2 separate regions of the Homo sapiens genome follow, and region 2 is linked to region 1. Evidence: promoter capture Hi-C in human tissues and cell types (Jung and others, 2019). All regions are on one chromosome and are shown on one strand. Each heading gives the region's core, a stretch centred on a gene start or on the middle of the fragment in contact. The rest is flanking DNA. Distances are from core to core; before and after follow the strand shown.

What was found. Contacts are between HindIII fragments. The study calls those that stand out against the background at their distance.
Region 2: a contact is called between a fragment that was not itself captured here and the fragment with the promoter of OSBPL1A in region 1, in 1 of the 25 tissues and cell types used here (dorsolateral prefrontal cortex).

Annotation. Positions count from the first base shown.
Region 1 is chr18:24,396,574-24,402,443 of GRCh38, reverse strand. It overlaps OSBPL1A (oxysterol binding protein like 1A), which reads left to right and starts at 4,620. Exons shown (of 28, transcript NM_080597.4): 1 at 4,620-4,789. LOC124904268 (a long non-coding RNA gene) reads right to left here. Exons shown (of 3, transcript XR_007066314.1): 3 at 1-1,344. RefSeq lists a silencer at 4,557-4,686. The HindIII fragment of the contact is 24,691 bases long and covers 1-5,870 here.
Region 2 is chr18:24,147,537-24,153,406 of GRCh38, reverse strand. The region is part of intron 3 of CABYR (calcium binding tyrosine phosphorylation regulated); the gene reads right to left. Among named protein-coding and RNA genes, the nearest start is that of CABYR, 11 kb to the right of the region's middle. The HindIII fragment of the contact is 3,580 bases long and covers 1,450-5,029 here.

The sequences.
Region 1 (5,870 bases), core at 3,371-5,870:
CCTCTGTGAGCCTTTCTGCATCTACCTTGACTAAGGACTGTCCTTTGCATGCGTCACGGTTAAACCTACCCAAGAGAGAAATCTAGATGGTTCAATGCTACTCAGTATAGAGATTTCCTGTTGGGCAAAGCACATATACCAGGCCTTTGGTAAGCCTAATAGAAAGGTGCCATTTAGGAGGCCCTGCTCTTGCTCCTTCAGCTGAGCCAAGAATTGTAGGTTGCATAATGAAGTCCTCAAAAAGGGGCAATAGGCAGGGCAGACTTTCCAAGGCTTCCTAGAAGGGGTCATGTGACTGTCAGGCACACTGCTTGAGCAGACAATTAGGGATAGAAAAGCGGAATATATTCTTTTTTGTTTGTTTGTTTGTTTGTTTTTTGAGGCAGGGTCTCTGTCTCCCAGGCTGAAGTGCAGTGATGTGATCTCAGTTCACTGCAGCCTCCACCTGCCAGGTTCAAGTGATCCTCCCACCTCAGCCTCCTCAGTAGCTGGGACTACAGGCCACACCACCATGCCTGGCTAATTTTTGTTTTGTAGAGACAGAGTTTCTCCATGTTGACCAGGCTAAGCAGGGTATATTCATGATGAATAAAGAAAGGCCAGGTGAGGTGGTTCATGCCTGTAATCCCAGCACTTTGGGAGGCCAAGGTGGGCAGATTGCTCAAACCAGAGTTTGAGACCACCCTGGGCAACATAGTGTGACCCTGTCTCTATAAAAAATAAACAAAAGTTAGCTGGGCATGGTGGCTCGCGCCAGTAGTCCCAGCTACTTGGGAGGCTGAGGTGGGAGAACTGCTTGAGCCTGAGAGGTTGAGGCTGCAGTGAGCCATGATCATGCCACTGTACTCTAGCCTGGGTGACAGAGCAAGACCCTCGTCTCAAAAATAAAAAAAATAAAGAAAAAAAAAAAGAAAAAGCAAGCTAAGGGCTAAAGGTTGAGTTGAAAATGTTGCCCAAGGAGAACATACCTTATGGGAAAAGCTATGAAAGACTATCTCTCAACTTTGCTTCTTCTGAAGAAAGACAAAAGGATAGGAAAATGAAAATAATTGGAACATATTCTTTCCCAGTGTTGGCACTGAGGAAAAACTATAGACTATTCCTACTACCCACATCCCCAGGAGTGCCCTAATCCGGCCTTTGCCAAGCCAGATTTCCAGCTGTTTCTTTGATGTCTGAGTGATATATTCTTTATTTGCTTAAGTTAGCCAGCACCAGTGCTTGCTGCTTACAACCAAGAAACTCTACAGAAGACATAAGGGTCTCTTCCAAACTTTTTGTGTGGGGAACCAGCAAAATCAATCACTGCTGGAAGGCAGTTGCTTAGACATCTGTGTGTCATACCTGCAGGAAAAGAGAGATGGGTACAAAATTAAGTCTAGACCAAAAGAATTTAATATCTGAAACTATACCAATTCATTCCTGTTATTAAATAAACTGAGTGAAATGGCACAAATGACAAATAACAAATTTAGACCACTTTTAAGAGAGAAAAACTCCCAATGACCTCATAGCTTTGATGGTCTGGAGTTAATAGTAACTACAAAGTCTTTCATATGTAGGTATAAGGGAATGATTCATTTCCCTCAACTCAATGGTTTATCTGCATTCGCCTGATGACATCTGACCTACTTTTCAGTATTCCAGGCAGTAATTACCCAAAGCCCTCCCCAAAGTCTCAGTCCATAAAATCCTCCTTTTAATGAGACTTAAGCCTTTAGCGTGTTCCTGCACCACTTCAAAGTCACACTGGCACCAGGGGAGTGTTTTTAAAACATGCAATGCACTAAGTGCATTCTGGGATGTCTCAGGCTTGAGACAAAACTGCAAGGACCAGACATTAGGTACTACAATCTAAAGAGGATCACATTCTGAAGGAGGTCATTGGAATGCGGGGAGGGGGATGACAGTAGAGAGATTTGGGCTCCTAAGTTTCCTGAAACAAAAGAGTCCAAGGTGAATCCAGTCTGAACCAGGCAATGAACAATTCTGATGAAGCCCATCCCAGTCTTAAGTTACCCGGTTCACTTTTCAATGTGGGTCAGGCAGGCCCGGGAATGGCAGGGCCAGGGGTTAGATACTCCCAAATCCATTTCACAACCAGTCAGAGCTTCCATTGCAATTCCTACTTATATATGTAGGGATTATATTACTAGTTACTTTAATATGCCGCATCTGCAAAGTTAAAATATCTATCTGCCTAAAGCTCAGAAAGGAATATGAAGGAAAATATTTATTAACTAGTTCCAGAGGTTCTACTTCTGCCAAATGTTTCTTAAAATAGAGTATGATATGACGGGGACAATCTAGTGATAGTTTTGTTATTCTAGAACTGCACTGCCCAATATGGTAACTGCTATCCACATGTGGCTATTTAAATTAAATAAAACTTGAAACCGTCAGTCACACTGGCCACATTTCAAGTACTCAATAGCCACATGTGGCTAGTGGCTACTGTACTGGACAAGGTAGAATTATAGAACATTTCTATCATCGCAGAAAGTTCCATTAGACACAGTGTTCTAGAATAATGAATTCTGTTATGCCATCATGGTGATTTTACCTGTACTAGCCGTCAATAATATAAATGCCCATGAGATATCTTTTCTGCATATTTTATGGAAATACCAAATAAAGTCCTTTAAAGATACAGTATAAATAGTAATGCTATCAAGATTGGAACTTCTCTTATTGATAACTGTAGTGATTACTACTTCATCCTCCTATTGACTGCAATCTGTTTTTCATTTGCAAACTGTAGAAGGGAGTTGCAAAGTGCAAGTTGTGAATTTAGGTAATTAAATCATCACAGAGAGAATGAAGGCTTTCATGGAATCATGGAAAATTATTTCAGTAGCCAATTATTATTGTCATTATTTCGGTAGTTTTATTTTGGCTATGAAGATGGTTCAAGGCTGGGTGTGGTGGCTCACACCTATAATCCCAGCACCTTGGGAGGCTGAAGTGGGTGGATCACCTGAGATCAGGAGTTTGAGATCAGACTGACAAACATAGTGAAACCCTATCTCTACTAAAAATACAAAAGTTAGCCGGGTATGGTGGCACGCACCTATAGTCCCAGCTACTTAGGAGGCTGAGGCAGGAGAATCGCTTGAACCTCGGAGGCAGAGGTTGCAGTGAGCTGAGATTGCACCACTGCACAAGAGTAAAACTCCATCTCAAAAAAAAAAAAAAAGATGGTTCAATATCCTTAGATAGTAAGCCCTGAGGTTTCTTCTTTTCCAGACAAATACAGCTGCTTTAGTTACCACACATTTTGCAGTTGAAGTATTGTGCTAGTAAAGTGCCTGCTTTGTTAATAAAAGATGATGCCAGCCTGAGATACACCAGCAGGATTGCTTGTGGTATCCAAAAACATCATTTCAAAAGATCTGCCATATGCTGTTTCACACATATCACAATGACCAAAAGGGCCTATTATAGGTTCTCAATACATGCTTCTAGACTTGATGGAAAAACTACAGTCCTTTTAAAAATGATACCTATTTATTACTTTTTCATTGCAAAAGAACATGTTCATTAAATACATTTAGAAAATTCAGGAAAGCAGAAATCAGTTTTCGTATGCTCGTAATTTCCTGTCTTTTTAGTTATGCAGAAATGCTTTTAAAAAGCAAAGCTGTGGCCTGCAGGGGTGACTCACGCCTGTAATCCCAACACTTTGGGAGGCCCAGGAGTTGGAGACCAGCCTGGGCAACATAGGGAGAGTCTGTCTCTACTAAAAATACAAAACTTGTCCGGGCGCGGCAGGGCGCGCCTGTAGTCCCAGTCCCTTGATTACCCGCCTGTAGTCCAGCTGAGGCCGGAGGATCGCTTGAACCCAGAAGACGATGCTGCAGTGAGCCGAGATCGCGCCACTACACTCCAGCTTGGGAGACAGAGTGAGACCTTGCCTCAAAAAAAGAAAAAAACAAAAACGGTGGAATTATACTAGAGTTTGAACCTTCACGTTATAGACTATTTGCTAACTCCTCTAGCTAGACGCCTTGTGCATGGAATCTGGAGGAGAGGAGGTGAGGAAATTTTGTAAATCCTTGTCTCACGCATATCTATTCTATAATGGTTACACCTGTATGGCATTTTAAGCGCTTCCTTTCACAGGTGAAAGTAAAAGGAGGTGTTTTTTTGTAAATTGTCTAATTTACATTGCCAATTAAGTTCCCACGGGTCGAGTTGCAGCCAAAGCAAAAAAGAAAAAAATCTGGGCAGCTGGATAACCTATTGCTTAATGACAGACTTCAGACTATTAACCCAGGACTTATATTTTGCCTGGGGACGCGAGTCTTCCACTGGCTCACACGGGCGGTTCCTTGTAGTCTCCGGGTAAGGCCTGCCACTTCTTCCCTCGGGGTGTGGTGGGAGGAGCGCGAAGGCTTTACGCGTCCCTAGTAGCTGGCAAAACCTGGAACCAGCGCCGGTGGCCCAGGCGGGACAGGAGCGGGCCGGGGGCGTGGGCAGGCCAGGCAGGGGCGGGGAGTGGGCGGGGAACGGGCGTGTCCCCGCTGCGGTCACGTGTCGGGAGGGATGCCAGCTCGCCAGGAGGATGCGCGTTCCAGGGGCGGGCTGCGGGGAGGGGCGGCGCCACCTCGCGCTCCGCCGTGGTCCCGGCGCCGGGTCCCGGAGACAGACGTTACGCGGGCTCGAGCGTCCTCGGGGAGTGCCAGCCAGAGTTGGTGACGACCACTTCCTCGACGTGGGGCGGGCGGACGGGAAGCCTGGGGTCGTGGCCACCGCCTCGGGAGCTCTGGGAGCCCGGGTGACCGCGTAGGTCAGTTTCTCGCGGCTGTCCACGCCTGGAGTTCGAGGCCGGTTCCCGCGCTGACGGGTTCCCGCCGGGCTGCGCTCGGGAGGTCTGTCCGCGCCTGGTTGGGGGTGGGCGCTCCCGTCCCGGGCGTCTCAGAGGATGGTCGGGTCGTGGCGCGGCGACGCAGGGCTGCAGCCGAGCTCGGCTTCCCGGCGGCCGCTGGCTGCTCCAGCGCTGCAGGAAGTTAGGCGTTAAAAGTAACAAGATGTTGGCGTTTGTTGCACTTCCCACTCGGGTGCCACGACCATGCTGGTGCCGCATGCATCCCCTACCAGATCTTCAGCTGCGTGCCTTCTCGGTACTTTCGTGTGTCCATGTGACTTTTTAATTTCCTCCTAACAAGAGGAGGATTGATGCACAATGGAAGTCACGCATTGTTCATGTGACCGTTTCCCAATGTACCGCGTGGTCGGTTCTACAAGCATGAACGAATATCCAAGGGAGATTCTGAAACTGAATGAGAGCGCAGCTGCACAATAGACTTTAACAATTCACTTATCCCGCTGCCCTAATGATTGGCAGGAGGCATTGAAAAGGGTTATTCTGATTTAGTATTAGTTTTCAGTTCAAGTTGTCGTTTTTAGGCAGACGGTATTGTGAAATGGAACTGTGGGCAGTGTGATATTCTTAGCTTAAATAAGGTTGCTTGAATGTTGCAAATGTGGCTATTAGGTGTCTGTGAATAGTTAATAATATAATTAAATCAGCTTTAAAATCGGTGATGTGTTTTCCCTGAAAACTTCAGTCTTTGCCCTGTAATAGGTGCATTCTGGATTTGGAGTTTGGAACCTCCTCACCTCTTTACTCAGCATCTGGGAAATAATTTGCAGATTCGTTTTGAGGGGTAGAAGTATTTGCAGTCTAACCCCGATACAATGAATTTTTTGCAGCAGTTTGATAGGTATAAATTCTGAACCACCCCCCTCCCTCCCCACCCCAAGCTGGAATTGTGAAGATTTCTTAATTACAGCATAGTAACAAAATCCACCTTTTAATTCCCTAATTCTAAACCACTAGGTGGGCTTTGTCTACAGTTTATAGGGGG
Region 2 (5,870 bases), core at 1,990-4,489, 250 kb after region 1:
GTGCCTCACATGAAAGATGGAGGCAGGGCTGAAGGCCAGAGAGAGCGCTCCTATTATCAAGACAGAGACAGGAGACACTGGCTCAAGACTGACCACAGAGAGAAGGCAGAGTTTGGCTACCACATGACGGAGGGCAGGAACACCGAGAAAGCCCCGTGTCCAAAGCCCAGGTGCACAAGTCCAGCCTAGGCCTAAGGCAGGCCCAGAACAACAGGGAACCTCCTGTACTGCTAACCAGCCCAAGGCTAAGAAACAAGAGACAGCAGGCTGCCACCAGGAGAGGGGGGCAAGAATTTGGAGAGAGATGCCCTTTGTGGGGCATGCTGGCAGAGAAGGCTGAAAGCTGAGGGGGAAGCACAGATGCTGAGAAATACCCTCTGGCACCCCAGCCCCACCCTCAGGCAAAAGGTCTTGGCAGCCTTCTAGAAGGTTTTGAGGCCTGTAGTACAGTGAAGGTAATGAAAGCAACAATAAAACCCAAGTCCAACTCCTAACCAGACTGACCTCCCCATACCCACACCAATTCAAGGCCTCCCTATTTTCCCCCATTAGGTCTTAAATTCTCCAACCACTGATTTACTTACCATGAGCGTTTATCAAGAATGCAGCCAATCTAGGGATTGGATTACTGCAATCCCTAGACTGCCTGCACGGGACCTGACAGGTTGCTTGTGGTATGACTTAGGCAACTCTGGAAAGGACCACTTGCTCTTTTAATTAAAAGTGTCTCCCTCACAGGTTCATGGTACCTGAAATTACGTCTAGAAGATTAAAATGTAATTAATTTTTTAAATGTTAAAAAAGCTCAATATTTTTGTCTCTGGAAGTCCCCTGCTAAACAAAAACATCCCTTATAACCACCATTCTGGAAAGGTAAAGCATTTATAATTATGAATCCTTAACAATTTACCAGGGAATGTATGATATTGTTTTCTTCCCTGCAACTTTCTCATAGTAAAAAAGTTAATGAGAAAACCTAGGTTCTAGTCCTGGTTCTGAGATTTAATAGCTGCATGACCAAGTCAACTGTTCCAAGCTTCAGGCCTCCTCACTTGCAAAATGGGGATTATAACTCTGACTTCATGGAGTTTCTGTGGACACTAAGTGAAATAATGCATCTGAAAGCACTGAATAAACTCTAAATCACATATAAATGGGGAAGGAGTGAATCAGTACCCATTTAAAAAGTGATACAGAAAAGTTTTGAAAATGTGATATCAAATTAAAAATATAAATCTCAAATATCTTTAATTCAGCTTTGATTAAAATTAAATTGGCTATTTCCTAAACTGGGTGGTAAAATACAGGATGTTTTTTCTTTATATGTGTGTGTTATATACTTATGGACTTTTTCATAATTAAAAACTGAGACCAGATGCCTTAAACTTTTATAGTGTTTTTGCAAATGCAAACACTAGGTCAGGCACGATGGCTCATGCGTATAATCCCAGCACTTTGGGAGGCTGAGGCAGGCAGATCACTTGAGGCCAGGAGTTCGAGACCAGCCCAGCCAACATAGTGAAATTCTGTCTCTACTAAAAATACAAAAATAAGCCAGACACAGTGGCACATGCCTGTAATCCCAGGTACTCAGGAAGCTGAGGCAGGAGAATTGCTTGAGCCCGGGAGGTAGAGGTTGCAGTGAGCTGAGATTGTGCCACTGCACTCCAGCTTGGGCAACAAAGCTAGACTCTGTCTTTAAAAAAAAAAAAAAAAAAAGCCAACACTAGATCAACCATTTGGCTTTGTTTGGAATACATGAAAGAATGCTGGCAAATATATACTTACTAGTTACTATACACATATAATGTAAATCTATATTGAGTTCATGTCATTATCTGTTTATTAAGAAGGGTAAAAAGCTTTTCTCTAATGTTTTAAGGTTAGCTTTAAATACTTACAACAGTCGCTGACTTGTAACCTTGAGATTATGTCGGTTGTATAAGACAGAATTTCTTCAAGTTGCAAACTAGGTTTGCTAAAGGTTGATCTTTCAACCTTATGAAGATTAACCCACTATGACTTTGGTGATCTGGTTCTACTTAAGCTGACAAAACTATACACACTGAGAATTAGGAACATAACTAAAGGCATTCCTTCTTGTAAAAAAGTTCCTTTTTAAGTATAATAAAATGACTCAAATTGGCTAACTTTAAAATTCATTGCAGAATCCTGATTTTCCATGAAACCAGTAAGATAAAGAGATAAATTCCAAGCATATGGTATTTTTTTAAATAGGCACAACTCATGGAGATTCAGGGTACTGAAGTACATAACTGCCCAAGAAGCATAAGGAAAAGGACATATTCTGGCATGGAATGGGAAATCTGAAAGGTATCAAAGACCACAAGTGTATAAGCAGCAGGGCCTAACAAGAGATACGAGAGGCTGTATAAGAATTGGAGGTGGGCCATCCTGGCTAACACGGTGAAACCCTGTCTCTACTAAAAATACAAAAAATTAGCCGGGCGTGGTGGCGGGCGCCTGTAGTCCCAGCTATTCGGGAGGCTGAGGCAGGAGAATGGCGTGAACCCGGGAGGCGGAGCTTGCAGTGAGCTGAGATCTCACTACTGCACTCCAGCCTGGGGCCAGAGTGAGACTCCGTCTCAAAAAAAAAAAAAAACAAAAAACAAAAAAACAAAAAAACTGGAGGTGGGAGGTGGGAAGCTCAAAGAGAGTGCTTAAAGTCAGGAATATGTATGGTACGTAATCTTTTAAGAATTTAAAACAAAAGATTCCAACTAGTCTGTATTGAACTGATTGGAATGAGAATACCAGAGACTATAAAGTAGGTGGTTTAGTTTCTCCCCTCTTCCTCCTTGCCCTTCCATCCATTCTTTCTTCATTCAACAAACATTAGTTGCACCATCTATCAAAGAGGAATAAGACTTCCTAAAGATCTCATTCTGATTAAGGATACAGGCAGATGATTGATTATATGACAATGTAGTCAGCACAGTGACTGAAATATGTATGGGGTACAGTGGCTTTTAGGTAATTTTGGTTAAGCTTTAGAAATAAGGAAAACGTGTGAAAGTGGCTAGTAATTTGGACTGTAGGAGGTGGAAAGCAAAAGAGGGCATGGCCAGTTTGAGGGAGAACAGCCATTCAGCCTATCCTAGGTAATCTCTCCCACGCCATGCCCCTTTGCCTTGCTTCTCCTCTTGGTTCTCCAGCACTGCCATCAAACTTCTCTGGGCCACAGTGAGCAACACCAAATGCAGTTTGGCATCTCTTTGGCTTTGTCCTTCCCTCTTCTCTTCCGGGTCTATTTCTGTCTCCCTCACCCCATTGAGAAGTGACAGCGTGCTGCAGTCCTCAGAGCCCTTGCTCGCTCTTGGCGCCTCCTCTGCCTGGGCTCCCACTTTGGCGGCACTTGAGCCCTTCAGCCCACCGCTGCACTGTGGGAGCCCCTTTCTGGGCTGGCCAAGGCCAGAGCCGGCTCCCTCAGCTTGCAGGCAGGTGTGGAGGGAGAGGCGCCAGCGGGAACCGGGGCTGCGCGCCGCGCTTGCGGGCCAGCTGGAGTTCCGAGTGGGCATGGGCTTGGCGGGCCCCGCATTCCGAGCAGCGGGCCGGCCCTGCCAGCCCCGGGCAATGAGGGGCTTAGCACCCAGGCCAGTGGCTGCATAGGGTGTACTGGGTCCCCCAGCAGTGCCAGCCCACCGGCGCTGTGCTTGATTTCTCGCCGGGCCTTAGCTGCCTTCCTGCGGGGCAGGGCTCGGGACCTGCAGCCCGCCATGCCTGAGCCTCCCACCCACTCCGTGGACTCCTGTGCGGCCCGAGCCTCCCCGATGAGCACCGCCCCCTGCTCCACAGCACCCAGTCCCATCGACCACCCAAGGGCTGAGGAGTGCAGGCGCACGGCACCAGGACTGGCAGGCAGCTCCACCTGCAGTCCCCAGTGCAGGATCCACTGGGTGAAGCCAGCTGGACTCCTGAGTCTGGTGGGGACGTGGAGAACCTTTATGTCTAGCCCAGGGATTGTAAGTACACCAATCGGCACTCTCTATCTAGCTCAAGGTTTGTAAACACCAATCAGCACCCTGTGTCTAGCTCAGGGTCTGTGAATGCACCAATCAACACTCTGTATCTAGATACTCTGGTGGGGCCGTAGAGAACCTTTATGTCTAGCTCAGGGATTGTAAATACACCAATCGGCACTCTGTATCTAGCTCAAGGTTTGTAAACGCACCAATCAGCACCCTGTGTCTAGCTCAGGGTTTGTGAATGCACCAATCGACACTCTGTATCTAGCTACTCTGGTGGGGCCTTGGAGAACCTTTGTGTCCACACTCTGTATCTATCTAATCTGGTGGGGACATGGAGAACCTTTATGTCTAGCTCAGGGATTGTAAACGCACCAATCAGCACCCTGTCAAAACAGACTACTCCGCTCTACCAATCAGCAGGATGTGGGTGGGGCCAGATAAGACAATAAAAGCAGGCTGTTCGAGCCAGCAGTGGCAACCCGCTCAAGTCCCCTTCCACACTGTGGAAGCTTTGTTTTTCCTCTTTGCAATAAATTTTGCCACTGCTCACTCTTTGGGTCCACACTGCTTTTATGAGCTGTAACACTCACCTCGAAGGTCTGCAGCTTCACTCCTGAAGCCAGCAAGACCACGAGCCCACCGGGAGGAACAAACAACTCCAGACGTGCTGCCTTAAGAGCTGTAACACTCACCATGAAGGTCTGCAGCTTCACTCCTGAGCCAGCGAGACCACGAACCCACCAGAAGGAAGAAACTCCGAACACATCCGAACGTCAGAAGGAGCAAACTCCAGACGTGCCACCTTAGGAGCTGTAACTCACCGTGAGGGTCCGCGGCTTCATTCTTAAAGTCAGTGAGACCAAGAACCCACCAATTCCAGACACACCATCACTCCCAACACATCCTCCCTCCCCACATTTTTACCAAACCTCATCTCTCCCAACTTCACTTAAGGGCAAAGAATTAAAGCAGGGTGGGTGGAATAGCAGACATTCCCTCCCTTATTCTTCGCTAAGATAATCTTAGCTAGATTAGTGGCAGCAATGTACCCAGCCCCAGGTGATAAACCACTAATGGCACACTGGTTCTCAAGGGGTAGTAGTATCCCCCTTCCACTGAGAGTATTCGTAGATGTAGAGGGGACATTTTTATTTATTTCAATACCTGGGAGGCATTAGTATTTTAGGAGGCAGGATCAGGGATGCTAGATGTCCTGCAATGCATGGGACAATTCTGATCTCCCTTACCATAAATTGTATCAGCCTCCTTTGGCCTGTGGGACAGAAGCGGAAATCTGCTGGAAAACTTGCAAAAGTGTTCCTTTCTTAATCAAAGGAACAAATGTCACCACTGCCACCACTTTCTCCTCCTTCCTGATGTAAACACAGGCATAACACCTGGAGCAGTAGCATGAGGGGACATGTAAAACATCCTAAGAATGACACAGCAGAGTGCCTAGATATGTGATACTTATTATTAAATTATATTAGGAGCAGAATGAACACCTTTTCAGATATGTTGTTTTCTTAAAGTTACTCTTAATTGATTTGCTGTTACTTGCAGCTGAAAGCTTTCCTAACTGATATGAGGCATAAATTAGAAGTCGTAAAGAAACATGACAGAGGGGGATTGTGTTAAATGCTGCTCTTTAGATACCATATCTGTTTTTTATTCTATGACATCCATAATACCCATTTTCTCTCTGGGTACTTGTTGAATTCATTATCTTAAGATTTACAGCTACTAGATAATGTATCTGTACTTTTTTAAACCTTCTGCCCATAAACATCTGGGCTGTGTCCCATATACCCTCTCCTCTATAGAATAAAGCTGATTAAAAAGAAGTGGATTATTTTCGATTTCCTACATCATAGTCATGTC